3 separate regions of the Homo sapiens genome follow, and all the other regions are linked to region 2. Evidence: promoter capture Hi-C in human tissues and cell types (Jung and others, 2019). All regions are on one chromosome and are shown on one strand. The core of a region is centred on a gene start or on the middle of the fragment in contact, and the rest is flanking DNA. Distances in the headings are between cores, read along the strand shown.

What was found. The method cuts DNA at HindIII sites, captures the fragments that hold promoters and counts their contacts. A contact is called where the count stands out against the background at its distance.
Region 1: a contact is called between a fragment that was not itself captured here and the fragment with the promoter of PRDM12 in region 2, in 2 of the 25 tissues and cell types used here (spleen and stomach).
Region 3: a contact is called between a fragment that was not itself captured here and the fragment with the promoter of PRDM12 in region 2, in 1 of the 25 tissues and cell types used here (IMR-90 fibroblasts).

The regions. Positions count from the first base shown.
Region 1 is chr9:130,696,691-130,701,164 of GRCh38, reverse strand. It overlaps EXOSC2 (exosome component 2), which reads right to left. Exons shown (of 9, transcript NM_014285.7): 3 at 3,538-3,583; 4 at 2,914-3,003; 5 at 1,771-1,836; 6 at 230-298. Among named protein-coding and RNA genes, the nearest start is that of EXOSC2, 5.1 kb to the right of the region's middle. RefSeq lists an enhancer at 1,833-1,942. The HindIII fragment of the contact is 4,089 bases long and covers 1,043-4,474 here.
Region 2 is chr9:130,661,726-130,666,386 of GRCh38, reverse strand. PRDM12 (PR/SET domain 12) reads right to left here and starts at 1,793. Exons shown (of 5, transcript NM_021619.3): 1 at 1,511-1,793. The coding sequence starts at 1,733. RefSeq lists enhancers at 546-1,219, 2,510-3,351. The HindIII fragment of the contact is 18,845 bases long and covers 1-4,661 here.
Region 3 is chr9:130,621,158-130,625,762 of GRCh38, reverse strand. FUBP3 (far upstream element binding protein 3) reads right to left here. Exons shown (of 19, transcript NM_003934.2): 10 at 2,953-3,055; 11 at 2,052-2,152. Among named protein-coding and RNA genes, the nearest start is that of MIR6856, 2.8 kb to the left of the region's middle. The HindIII fragment of the contact is 4,458 bases long and covers 1-3,746 here.

The sequences.
Region 1 (4,474 bases), core at 1,838-4,337, 33 kb before region 2:
GGAGAAAAAGGATAAAACTTGTTCTTTACAAGGCTACTGACCCATGACCCTGTGAACCCTGACCGTCCTGATGTTACGTTTAAGGAACACGATCAGTTTGTGGGATGCCAGCCTCTATTAATGCTTAGCTACTGGGGTTCTTTAGGCCAGAATTCCAGAGAGCTATGGGGATTCAAAAATAGCCTTGTAGTCTCAGTCAGCAAACAGGAACATCAAGAGCCCGACTTACTTTTCCATATTTCAGGCTCCTCGTGTGCAAAGAGACAGCTCCGTCAGAGAACACTGCCTGGACCTCAGCCTGGCCAGGGTGATGAAGGAACAAACAGCAGCCTTGGCCACACACTGTCCTGTCCTCTGCAGCCTCTCCCCTTGACCCCACACCTCCATCTTTTCCTCCCCTCTCCAATGGTCCAGGCTCAACAATCTTTGACCCAGAGCACATCACTGTGACCTTACCTCTCCCCTTGGTTGTCATGAATATCTTTTTTTTAAAAATACAGACAGAAGGCCAGGTGCGGTGGCTCACACCTGTAATCCCAGCACTTTGGGAGGCTGAGGCAGGTCGATCACCTGAGGTCAGGAGTTCTAGACCAGCCTGACCAACATGGAGAAACCCCGTCTCTACTAAAAGTACAAAATTAGTCGGGCATAGTGGCGCATGCCTGTAATCCCAGCTACTCAGGAGGCTGAGGCAGGAGAATCGCTTGAACCCGGGAGGCAGAGGTTGCAGTGAGCCGAGATCCCACCATTGCACTCCAGCCTGGGCAACAAGAGTGAAACTCCGTCTCAAAAAAATAAATAAATAAATAAATAAATAAATAAATAAATAAATAAAATAAAGACAGAGGCCAGGCATGGTGGCTCATGCCCGTAATCCCAGCACTTTGGGAGGCCGAGGTGGGCAGATCACCTGAGGTCAGGAGTTTGAGACCAGCCTGGCCAATATGGTGAAACCTGTCTCTACTAAAAATACAAAAATTAGCCAGGCATGACGCACGCCGGTAATCCTAGCTATTTGGGAGGCTAAGGCAGAATTGCTTGAATCCAAGAGGCGGACGTTGCAGTGAGCCGAGATCGCGCCACTGCACTCCAGTCTGGGCAACAGAGCAAGACTCCGTCATTAAAAAAAAAGAAAAATTTAAAAAATAACATAAAATAGAGACAGAGTCTTGTTCTGTCACCCAAGCTGGAATGCAGTGGTGTGATCATAGCTTACTGTAGCCTTGAGCTCCTGGGCTCAAGCAACCCTCTGGCCCCAGCCTCCTGAGTAGCTAGGACTACAGGCATGTGCCACCACGCCCGGCTAATTCTTTTTTAATTTTTTTGTAGAGAGGGGGGTCTTGCTATGTTGCCCAGGCTGGTCTTGAACTCTTAGGCTCAAGCAGTCCTCCCTCCTTGGCCTTCCAAAGCGCTGGGATTACAGGCATGAGTCACCACACTCGGCCTGTCATTAATATCTTGACGTGAACAACACCTTCTCCACTCCCTGCGCTAAAAGTTAACACCATTAACAAAAGCCTAGTCTAAAGCACAGGCCACCGTAAGTTACAAGACCCAAAGAAATGACTTAGCAGCAGGTCCCAACAAGAGCTGGGGAGTCAGCCTGAATTAAGGAGACTGAGAAAGGATGCAGCAGAGCCCGACACTTGGTCTAAGACTCGGATCCCTGCAAGGATGACATGGTTCTTCCGTCAGAGACATACAATGGAAGGCCCATTTCCCAGTCCCACAGAAAAGCATCAAGAGGCTGGAGTGCAAAGCGCAGGATACACTGATAAGGTCCCCTTCCTGTAAGAAACCTCTCATTGCAAGCTCATCTTCTGCAGATCTTCTCCTCTGAAATACACAAAGAAATGACATTACTTAAGCCAGATCCTCAGAAAGGTCTCCATCACTTCTCTTTCACTTCCTTTTGAGATGTTTGAGGCCAACCACAATATTCAAGCACTGAGAACTATAGCAAGAGTAGGTAACCCAAGCCACTTGAGGGGAATCAGTGATAATCACGACTTTCCATCTCAAAAGACTTTTCCACAGCTCCTCTTCCTCTTTCCCTCCCTTCTCTGAGGAACATTCAGACCCCTCCCAATCTCACCTAGCCAACATTTCCATAGTCATCTTCCATGACAGCCCTCTGTGGTCCAGCAGGACCAGACTAACTCCTGCTTGGATATATCTCTGCTCATACATTTCCCTTTATCTCAGATTCCCTGAACTAGTCATTCAAAGTCTCTCCATCCTTCCAGGATCAACTCCAATGCCTGTCTTTCCTACAAGCTTCTCTCACTGAAATTTCCTTTTGTATAACCACAGCTTATTTATTCTTCTACTGCCAGGGACTAGGTCAGTTATCTTATATCCCCTGCTGGGGAACTCAATCGTGCTTGGCACTCGGCACAGAGCTTGGCACAGTAAGCCTCTCTGTAAATACACGCTGGACTGAAGATCAAGGTGAACCATGGCATTTTACAAAAGGCTGTGGCTTAGTTACTGTGGTTGTCTGGAATGCCAGCAACCACATTCCACACATGGTTGAATGAAATGCCTTTCAATTCACAAAAACCTAATGTAAAGACAACTTTTCAAGGAACATCTTCACTATGCAAGGCTGTTATATCCAAAAAGGAAAACTGTTAACAACCAGCATCTAAGGGCTTCTCTCCCCAACTCTCTGTTGGGATCCCACCCCATGGATGTTTCTGATCCTACCATATGCCAACTGCTCCCTCTTTCGGGAGACCTGGACAGGGTGAAAAGTCTACATACACATCTAGGCAGCAAACTTCACAGCAGACAAACAGGAGTCAAAGGGGCAACCTCAGTGTAAATCAAAGTCCTCTGGTGGAACAAAGGGTCCCACGGCTCCCCCCAGCCCACTGGGCCCTAGTCCATGGCCCCAGCTGTAGCCCTTACCAGCTCTCCTCCAGGAAGGTTCATGGACGAGAGCAGCAAGACCGAATCCAGCCTGGAGTTGGTCTCCACCTTCCACCTCTTCTGTTGAACCTATAAGCCAAGTTCCACACCTGGACACATGCTCCATGTTCATGTGTCATATCATAAATAACCAGTAAGGCCAGATGTGGTGGCTCACGCCTGTAATCCCAGCACTTTGGGAGGCCGAAGCTGGTGGATCACTTGAGGTCAGGAGTTTGAGACCAGCCTGACCAATATAATGAAACCCCATCTCTACTAAAAATACAAAAATTAGCTGGGCGTGGTGGCGGGTGCCTGTAATCCCAGCTACTTGGGAGGCTGAGGCAGGAGAATCGCTTGAACCTGGGAGGTGGAGGTTGCAGTGAGCCAAGATCATGCCACTGCACTCCAGCCTGGGCGACAGAGCGAGACTCCATCTCAAAAAAAAAAAAACATGAACCAGTAATCTGAAATCGAACAAGCCACATATTTACATCAGAAGCCACACAACGGCCAAATGCAATGAATGCCTTTTTCATGTAACTACAAGTGGAATGACTGTCCCATGAATGAAATCGCCAGCCTGCCTCGACTTTGTAAACACCAATCTGATATCGACGTTACCTCTGTGATTCGTCCCACTACGATGTCTCCTACTTCACCAATGTATCTGAAAGACAAAACACAAGGGGTTCATCCATCTGTGAGCAGACTTTCTGACAAGACCACACACCATTTGAGATGTCGGTTCAACAGGGTGAAAGCCTGGAACAGGCGCCACATTCAGCAAATTCATGTAACTATATTGTCTGGACTTACTTTCAGAAACTGCTAACTTCAAACATTCCTCCACGTATAAAGTCTCCATTAACTATCCTTAGACATATCACCATTCCAAGTAGTTCATTTAGCCCAAAAACCCTATTTTGTTCGATTACACGACAATGAAAAACACGGACTATTTTCCTGTGGCACATGGATGAGTTCTGCACCAGCCAAAGGAAGAGAAAGGAAATCTGAGCCAGGACTCCAACCACACAAGTCTGCTCACGTCTCCTCCACTTACTCACTGCCTGCTCCTCTCAAGCCCCTTTGCTAGTTCCTTACCCGCGATTCTAATGAGACGTACTCAGTGCTGAGGCTAAGTCCTTAGACCTCTTCACTTTTCGGCCACTCAATCTAATACCTTTAAAACACCACTCTGTGCTGTGACTGTGCCACTCTCCTGAATTCCAAATCCTACTCAACTGCTAGCTACCCAACTCTGCCATCTAGATGACTAACAGGCATTTTCAAATGTATCAAGCACAAAACTAAGCTTTCCCGCAGCCCCCTCCAGTCCTCCATAGCAAACCGAGATAGGGGATGAGTTGTCCCCATCTCAGTCAACGGTGACTCCATCCCCTCAGTTGCTCAGGCCAAAAACCTCGGAGAGTTCCTTGATTCCTCTCTCTCTCTCACGCTCCAGGACAAGTCCAGTAGCAAAACCTGTTGGCTCTACCCTTAAAACATATGCAGGAAATAAAAGGCATCCAAATTGGAAAGGAAGAAGTAAACTTAT
Region 2 (4,661 bases), core at 544-3,043:
CGAGTGGTGCGTTGGGGATCATTTTTAGAAGTGGGTTTTTAGTCTCTCCGCGAATTCTCAAAGCATTCGCAACTTCTTCCATCCTCTGCCCCGGATAAGTTTAAGAATTAATGAGCCAACGGCAGCGAGCGGTTTTATGCACAGGGAAACTGAGGCCAGGTCCTGCAAGGAGGTGAAGGCCAACCGGAGACTCTTTCGCCTAGTCGGCTTCCGGGAGCCCACTGTGTGTCCAGGCTCTGGGCACTGGCAGAGGAGCCGGGCCGTGATCAGCGCTGGGGACAGACCTCGGGCTGGCAGGTGTTGGAGGTGCCAAAGAAGCACCGGCAGCAGCTGGCCAGGCTCTGCGCTCGCTGTGTGACCCCGGGCGCGCCCGAGTCCCTCTCTGCTCCCAGGCCCTGGGGTGCCAGGGAGGGCGGCGCCCGGGCTCAGACAAACCCCGATGTCATCTCTCTGGGCGGGGAGGAGCCGCGGCGGCCCCCAGCTCCCCGAGGGTTCCCCTGTCGGGCATCTGCGGCAGGGCTGGAAGCGGCGAGGCGCACAAGGGCGGCCTCCATGTCTTACAAGGTTCCCCTCTAAGCTACCTGGGAAAATACCCGGCGAGCGGGCCGGCTGAAAGGGGGGGGTTAAACGGTGTCCATTGCGGCGCGGCGGGCAATTTGTCACGCTGTTAAAGTGATCGCATTCATTCGGCTCCATTCGAAAGAAATTGCTAATTCTAAATTCATTAGCCCTGGAAGAATGCTGTAGCAGTAAATTGTAGCTCAATGCGGAGGGGACTTGTTTAAAAGGGGCCGAGGAATTCCCCTTACAAAAAAGGGGGATTAGATGGTTGACATAGCGTGAATGGAAGTGGAATTAGTCTTCACGGTAAATTAAGAGAGGAACAGAAATCGTAAAGGGGGAAAAGAGGGCGACGCGCAGAGATGCCAGAGCCAGGGAAAGATATTGTTTGCGGGTTGATGAATGAGGAATAAGAACTTGAGACATCTTAAAGAAAAGAAACTTTTCTCGCTCTCTCTTTCTCTCCCTCGCTCTCCCCGCGGCTTTTTCTCCCCGCCCGCCCTCCCTCCACCCCCTCCCCAGCCCCGGCTGCCTTTTAAAGTTCTTGGTTTAAGTGGGAACTTTCGTGGGTCAAGCCCAAGTTAACTAAATGAATTTAAAACCCCTTCTTTTTGAGTCAACTGCTATTACACGCCTAGTAAGGCTGTAAATGCCGGGAACCCGCCAGCTCAAGCGCAGGAGGGGAAGGGAGGGGCCGGCGGGGGCGTCGGGGCCGAGCGACGGGGTCGCCGGGGTCGGTCCTTGAGCCGGGTGGGCTGCGGAGCTGCTTGGTGGCTCGCGTCCTGGTTTGGCCCATGGGGAAACTGAGGTGCACCGAGCGCCGGGAGAGCCCAGGTTGGCGCGAGTAGCAGCGAGGCCGGGTATCCCAGCCGCGTCTCGCGCATCGCCAGGACGGGAATGGGGGTCGCCGGGAGGAGGGATTGCGCCGGGCTCCGACGGCTGGACTCACCGCCGGAGAAGGACTGCGCCAGCACCTCGGCGGTGAAGGCTGTCTTGGGGCTGGCGTGGTGGCTCTTGTCCTCGAAGAGCTGCTCCCCGAGCACGTTGCGCCAGCGGCCGTACAGGAAGCTGTGCAGGATGTCGGAGGTGATAACCTCGGCCAGCGCCAGTCCCGGCGCCTTCAGCCCGGTCTTGAGCACCAGGGCCTCAGCCGGGAGCACGGAGCCCATCATGGGCGGCCCGGAGCTCCCCGGCGCCGGGGGACGGCCGGGCCGACGGGGGAGGTGGGCGGGCGAGAGGGGAGCCCAAGGGGCGAGAGGAGAGCGCTGCGATGGAGAAGGAACCAGAGCAGGGGGAGGACGGAGAGGAGGAGGACGCAGGAGGGAGCGGGAGGTGAGGGGGCGACTGGGAGGAAAGCGAACGAGGGGGAGAGGGGAAGAGAGATGGTGAAATCTGTAGAGATGGCAAAGGCGGCGCGGAGGGTGGAGAGACGCGGGTGGAGGCGGAGGCGGGTGCGGGGGGTGCAGGGTGGGTGAGAGGCGGGTGGTTGCAGGGAAGCGGCAGCAAGGGGCTCAGGCGCGCGCTAGCCTCTCGCACACTCGGCCGGGGCCGTCTTCCCCTTGGCAAAATCTCAGCGCCTTTATAGGAGCCGCAGTGACCCTCCTAATTGGTTATTAATGACCCCCTGACGTCGGAGGACAGACTTGTTGTACCCGGCTGGGCTCGAGGAGCCTTCGTCGCGAGAGCGCGAGGGGCGGGGGCGCGCGGACCGCTCCAAACAGTACCCCTCCACTCCTCTCTCCCCTTCCTGGTCCTTCCTCCCCCCTCCTGTTTTTCCTTCTCTCCCCGTGGGAAGCGCAGGGCAGGGAGGGAGGCTCAGCCGGCTCTGAGGAGAGGAGGGGACGGAGAAGGGGAGGGGGTGCGGCGAGGCTCTCTAGGACTCCAGGGACCAGGCTAGACAAGAGGGGACGCCTGGCTTCGGGCCCCGCGCTCCCCTCAGGCCTGATCTATGTTCACCGGCCTGGCCCAGCCCGGCGTTCACCTTTACTTTGCTGCCCCGGCTGGCCGGCCCAGCCCTGCACCGCTCTCCCTCCCCGGCCAGAGCCCGCGTCCTCTTCCCTCTCCGGCCCTGCACTCCCCGGGCCGCCACAGTCGCCCCGAGCTCGCGCGCAGCCCTAGTTGCCACGCGGATCCCCTGCTCAGACTGCGCTGCTGAAGCCGGCGCTTCGCTTCATACGGGCCGCGCCAACTCGGTCGCTGTGCACGGTCGGGTGCGAAACTCCTCCGCGGGCTCACGGGGCTGCCGAGGCGGGGCCGCAGCGGCCGTCGGGGCTGGGGCTGGTCCCGGCCTGAGACAGCTTCATGGAAGGCCAGGCTCCCGGCCCTTGCGGGGCCAGGTCGGGGGTCGAGATGGGCGGACAGGAATCGCCCTGGCAGCCTGTCTCTGGGAAAAGAATTTCCTACGGGATATAGGGGGATTGAAAGGGGTCCCGAGACCCTTCCTAGGTGGGAGCAGGCGTGCCTGAGAGCGAAGTCCCTCAGAAACTGCAGGCAGCTCCGCGAGAGGCCTCAGTGCGGGTTCGGCTTGCGGCCCGGCTTTCCGGCTCCTTGCTGAGCTGCAACCTCGGGAAGCCGGTGGCGTTGCGGCGCCCCTTCCTTCTTGCCTCCTAGTTCTTTCTTTCTCCTCTGCCTCTCTCTTCTTTCCCTTCCTCTCCTCTATTCCTCCTGCCCATCATCCCAGGAGCAGACTTGCTTTGCGGCGGTTTCGAGGCACCTCGGAGCCCAGCGATCCCCTCTCCCGAAGCAGGTAGCTGCTGAGCCCAGCGGAAGGCCCCGCTTCCTGCAGGCTTCGCGGCTCCCCAGTGTCAGCCTCAAGCCTCGGACCCCAGGCCCTGACATGCTGGGTGAGGGAGCTCACCCCACCTGCCGCACTTCTGGCTCCCATCACCAGCCTACAATTTCAGATGCCGCTAACAGAGGTGCCTGGACCCTCTCGGCGTGGGTCAGGCTCACGGATTAGTCTCCGCTGGACTGTGTGGACTCCCTAGACCTTCTCCTCAGCGCGGAGGACTTGGGTGGAAGAACAGCGAGCTGACCTCCCATGAGCGAGACCCTGTCCAAACGCCTGTTGGCATAGACGCCCCTCCACCACCCGGACGCGCCTTGGCTAAGAGGGTCTCACACCTGGCGTCCAGACTCCAGACCCCTGGTCCCCAGTTCCTGCCAGTAGTCTCCGGCATCCCCCGTCCCCGTTGGGACGCAAAGGGAGGAAGGCGGCGGTAGCTGGCCTTCAGACCCTGCGTCCGGGTCCGCCCGAGGCTGGAGCCCAAGGAAGGGCACACCTGGCAGAAGGCAGGACCGTTGGGCAGGGCGCCAGCAGAGGGCAGCGCTGCTGAGGAGGGAGGTGGGTTAGGGTCGCCGAACCCTCCACTCATTTTTCGACGCAGCTTGTGGGTCGCATCGGCTCCCTGGCCAGAGCTCGAGTCTGAGGGGGCGTATGGAGTCCGATGGCTCCTGCAGGGGAGCCTCACCGGGGCCTACTTCTTGGCTTCTGGGAAGACCTAGGTGGAGAGGACAAAGTGCTAGGAGCGAGGGAGACGACGTCGGGGAGCGCTGCCAGGAGCCAAGCGCTGCGGCAGCTCCCAAGCCCCGAAAGCGACCTCAGTTCCTCCAGGACACCAAAGGGGGATAAGGACTGCTGTGTGTCCTGTGGACTGCCCCTTTCCTCTCTGGGCCTCGGTGTCCCTGTCTGTGCAATGGTTTGAGTTGGACTTTGTGAACTGAGGTTTCTTTGCTTGGTCTCTCTTTGGGTAAGATCACTTTACCCCACGACAACCCCGAGGATTTTGCCCTCTCCAGGGCCACGTCCCACTGCGGGAAGCCCTCAGGTCTGTGCATCCTCCGTGCTGGGGTGCAGCGTTTGGGTCCTGAACCCCGGCTTAGAGTTAGAGGCTTGGATTCCGCTGGCGCAGTGACCACGGGCTCGGACTGCGGCCAGGGAGTCCCATTCCTCTCCTCCGGACCCGCAAGCCCGGAGAGCAGTACTGGGAGCCGGGCAGAAGCGGAGCGCAGAACGTCCTCCCAGCTGGTGCGCCCAAATCTCCACCGCGCTCACATTTTGTGCTTCTAGTCTAGCGGCAAAACCCACCTGGACCCCCGCC
Region 3 (4,605 bases), core at 268-2,767, 40 kb after region 2:
GAGGGAACCTGCCAAGGCCTCCTCCCCATGTGGGGCTGGAGAAGTCTCTGAGGCATTCTCCCACTGTTCACCCAGCAGAGAGAAAAACCTAAATCTAACAGCGGACAGAGGAAGAGCCCTTTCATTGAGACAGCAGCAAGTCTCATTCCAGCCGCTGTCCGCGGAGTCATTTTGGAGCTGCAGTATTTAAACTCTCTTAAATGTGGAGGGTGAACCTGGTCAAGCTAAGAGCTATTTCATGGAAGGGAGAAGCTGCACAGACTTTTCAACACATGAAGAAATGTTGGGCAAAACCTGCTCATGTTGATTAAGAGTAAAGTGAACGTTTACCCAGAATCTAAACCAGCAGAAAGCTGAGACAATTGGAGTGCTTTTCCCCCGCACTCTGCTCTTATGAGACAACTGCCAAGTAAACAAGGCAATTTTAGAATGGATGTTCACACACGCACAGGAGCGCACAGTCAACTTTCTGGGTATGCCACAGATCTCGAAGAAAAGGTTTTCTCCCAAACATCTCGCAGCCTCTGCAGTGCAAGGTTCATAAACTTTTTTTGAGACAGAGTTTTGCTCTTGTTGCCCAGGCGGGAATGCAATGGCAGGATCCTGGCTCACTGCAACCTCCGCTTCCTGGGTTTAAGCAATTCTCCTGCCTCAGCCTCCTGAGTAGCTGAAACTATAGGCATGCGCCACCACGCCCGGCTAATTTTGTATTTTTAGTAGGGACGGGTCTCACCATGTTGGTCTTGAACTCCTGACCTCAGGTGATCCACCTGCCTTGGCATCCCAAAGTGCTAGGATTACAGGCGTGAGCCACCACGTCCAGCTAATTTTGTATTTTCAGCAGAGACAGGGTTTCACCATGTTGGTCAGGCTGGTCTCGAACTCCTGACCTCAGGTGATCCGCTTGCCTCGGCCTCCCAAAATGCTGGGTACAAGAGTGAGCCACCGTGCCTGGCCAAGGTTCATAAACTCTTGCTACAAAAAAAGGATGTTAGAGATCATTTAGAGCAGGGGTGTTCAATCTTTTGGCTTCCCTGGGCCACACTGGAAGAACTGTCTTGGGCCACCCATAAAATACACTAACATTAATGATAGCTGATGAGCTTAAAAACACACACACACACACACACACACACACACACACACACACACAAAATCTTGTAACATTTTAAGAAAGTTTATGAATTTGTGTTGGGCTGCATTCAATGCTGTTCCTGGGCTGCGTGCAGCCCACAGGCTGAACGAGCTTGATTTAGTGGCCGTTTTATAAACTTGTCTAATCTTAAGAATTGCCTGGGTCTCTAGTGAAGACCCAAGACCCTCCCTTGGAAATGCTGATTCAGTAGATCTGGGGTGGGGGCCTACACATTTGTAATTTGAGTAAGAACCACCAGATGGCTCTTAGGGGATCACATAGAGAGCACTGCCTGGTGCAAAGCACCCTGAGTCTGCTGCTGGGAACACCAGACCCAGAGGTTCAAAGGCAGCTCCAAGGTCACATGACTGATGGCAGAGCTGGGACTATAATTTCCAATCTCTTGCTTTATTCTTCCGTTCTGGTCATTCTCAAATGTATCCTCAGTCCTACCATCAGTTATAGGGGTTCCTAGCACTGTCACACAGGCTGGCTCACAGTCCAAAGATGTGCATGAAATCAAGTGCATGAAGGCAGCTTTAGGACTTTGGAGGACCCTGAAGTGTCTTCTACCACTAAGACTGGATTTCACTAACACAGATTAACATTAAATACACTTGATTATTTGAAACTTGGCGACCAATCTCCATGGTATTTCCCCACATGGTTTAAATAGCCAGAAACTTACTGTGTAAAGGCAATCTAGATGGTGAGGTAAATAAAGGCAGAATAATTAATGAGCAGAAAAAAATACCAAGAAGGCAGGAAAGAGGCTGATGTAGAGAAACTGCTGGTTTCCCATAATGTGACTTGAGACGCCTCAGGGTGACAGCTCTATGGTGCTGCACCGAGAGCCCCGGGTAGCACTTTCCACTTCTGCAGCCCAAACACTCACACTCTGCAGAGCTGGACCCACCTGGGCTGTAAGAATCAGCTCGCTGATGATATGCGCTGCATGCTGACACCGATCCGGAGGGCCCATGACCTGGGCAGCTCTTTCTGGACTAATCCCATCATCTGAGGAGCCAGGTGAGAGACAGGATTAGAAAAAAGCCCAACGTTAGAAGGAAACAAGGATTAATCTGATTCCCAATCAATATTCTCACCCGCGGTGCCAAAAGGGGCAACAGGAATACTGCCAGCTGCAGGGACTCTTTTGGAGTGATGTGGGTGATAGGAAAATGTGTGTCATTATATTGTTTTGCATGTTTCAGGTCAATGCTCAATTCTTATGCAATTATAGCCATTTAAAAAATGTATCATTAAAGAACTAAAACAAAGCTTGACTTTAAAAAAGCCAAGGGAGTCAGAGCAGAGCTATGGCAACAGCTTCCAGAGAAGAGCCTGCCATGTTTTCCTCTTTTCAGACCACGTCGAAAATTTTGCTCATTAAGGCAAATTTATAAAATTTAAAAATTTGTCCTTTATTCTAAGATGTTTTGTCTTTGTGTGTGGTTTTAAATTATCTCCAATTTAATAAAATCAAAATTATACATATATATTTTAAAATTTTACTTGGCAAAATCAGAAGCTGACATACTATGCATTTATGACATACTATGCATATACTCCAGGAAGAAAAAAGAAAAAAGGCCTGGAAATCAAAGGTGACCGACATGTATCCGGGGAGGGAAAAGAAGGCTGGGAGAAGAAACTGAGATTGGTCATCTGGTAGCAGGATGTTGCAAGGATGAGAAAGGTGAATACACATGAACCAATAGCCAAGCCCTTGTTTTGTAAGGTGTTTTATCATCCTTTTAACACTAAGGATTTTTTTTTTTTTTTAACACTAAGGATTTTTAAATCATCATACCCACCTGGTTTAAACTGAATCCTCACACCAGCATCATTCTGGATCTTTTTGATCATTTCCCCGTTTCTTCCTATTACAATCCCCACAGCAAACCTAGGCACAGATACCTAGGCACAGAGAAACCAAACCACATCAGAACTTTTCACAAACCTGTCTTTTTAAAGGGCACTTTTTTTTTTTTTTTGAGACTGAGTCTCGCTCTGTTGCCCAGGCTGGAGTGCAGTGGCACAATCTCAGCTCACTGCAGCCTCTGCCTCCCGGGTTCCAATGATTCTCCCACCTCAGCCTCTAAGTAGCTGAGAAAACAGGCACAGGCAACTATGCTCGGCGAATTTTTGTATTTTTAGTACAGATGAGATTTCACCTTGCTGGCCAGGCTGGTCTTGAACTCCAGACCTCAGGTGATCCGCCCACCTCGGCCTCCCAAAGGGCTGGGATTACAGGCGTGAGCCACTGTGTCTGGCCAGGACACTTTTTTTTTTTTTTTTTTTTTTGGAGATGGAGTCTCGCTCTGTTGCCCAGCCTGCAGTGGCACGATCTTGGCTCACTGCAACCTCCACCCCTGAGGTTCAAGCAGTTCTCCCTGCCTCAGCCTCCTGAGTAGCTAGGATTACAGGCACCCGCCACCATGCCCAGTTTATTTTTGTATTTTTTAGTAGAGATGGGGTTTCACCATGTTGGCCAGGCTGGTCTTGAATTCCTGACCTCAAGTGATCTGCCTGTCTTAGCCTCCCAAAGTGCTGGGATTATGGGCGCGAGCCACCACGCCCGGCCCAGGACACATTTTTTTTTAACACGCAACTTAGTTTTTATTATAGTGCATTCCTGGAAATGATATAATAAAGGACATTTTTCCCTTTTAGGAATAATACTGTGGTTGAACTGCGTTCTTTTTTTTTTCTTTTTTTTTGAGACAGAGTCTTGCTCTGTCGCCCAGGCTGGAGTACAGTGGCACCATCTACGCTCACTGCAAGCACCGCCTCCCAGGTTCACGCCATTCTCCTGCCTCAGCCTCCCGAGTAGCTGGGACTACAGGCACGCGTCACCACACCCGGCTAATTTTTGTATTTTTAGTAGAGACAGGGTTTCACCACATTGGCCAGGCTGGTCTCGAACTCCTGACCTTGTGATCCACCCGCCTCTGCCTCCCAAAGTGCTGGGATTACAGGCGTGAGCCACCATGCCCGGCCTGAACTGCATTCTTAACTGTTAAATGCATCCAATTTGAGATTTGATCAAAATGGTTATAAAAATGAATAAGCCTTATAGATAAAAGATGAAAAATAGTAATTTTGCCTTCCAATAAACACACCATACACACTGTTACCTGGGCTGGACTTGTTATCCAGGCTGGGTTACAGTGGTGTTAACTGTAGCACACTACAGCCTCGATCTCCTGGGAGGAGTGAGCCTCCCTCCTTAGCCTCTAGAACAGCTGGGACTATAGGAATGTGCCACACTAGGCTAATTTAAAATACTTTTTTTTTTGTTTTGGTAGAGGTGGTGTCTGGCTATATTGCCCAGACAGATCTCAATCTCCTGGCCTCAAGCAGTACTCCTGCCTAAGCCTCTCAAAGCACTGGGATTACAGGCGTGAACCACCATGCATAGCCCTAGCGGTTCTTTAAAATGCATTTTTTTCCTTCATTTTTCTTTT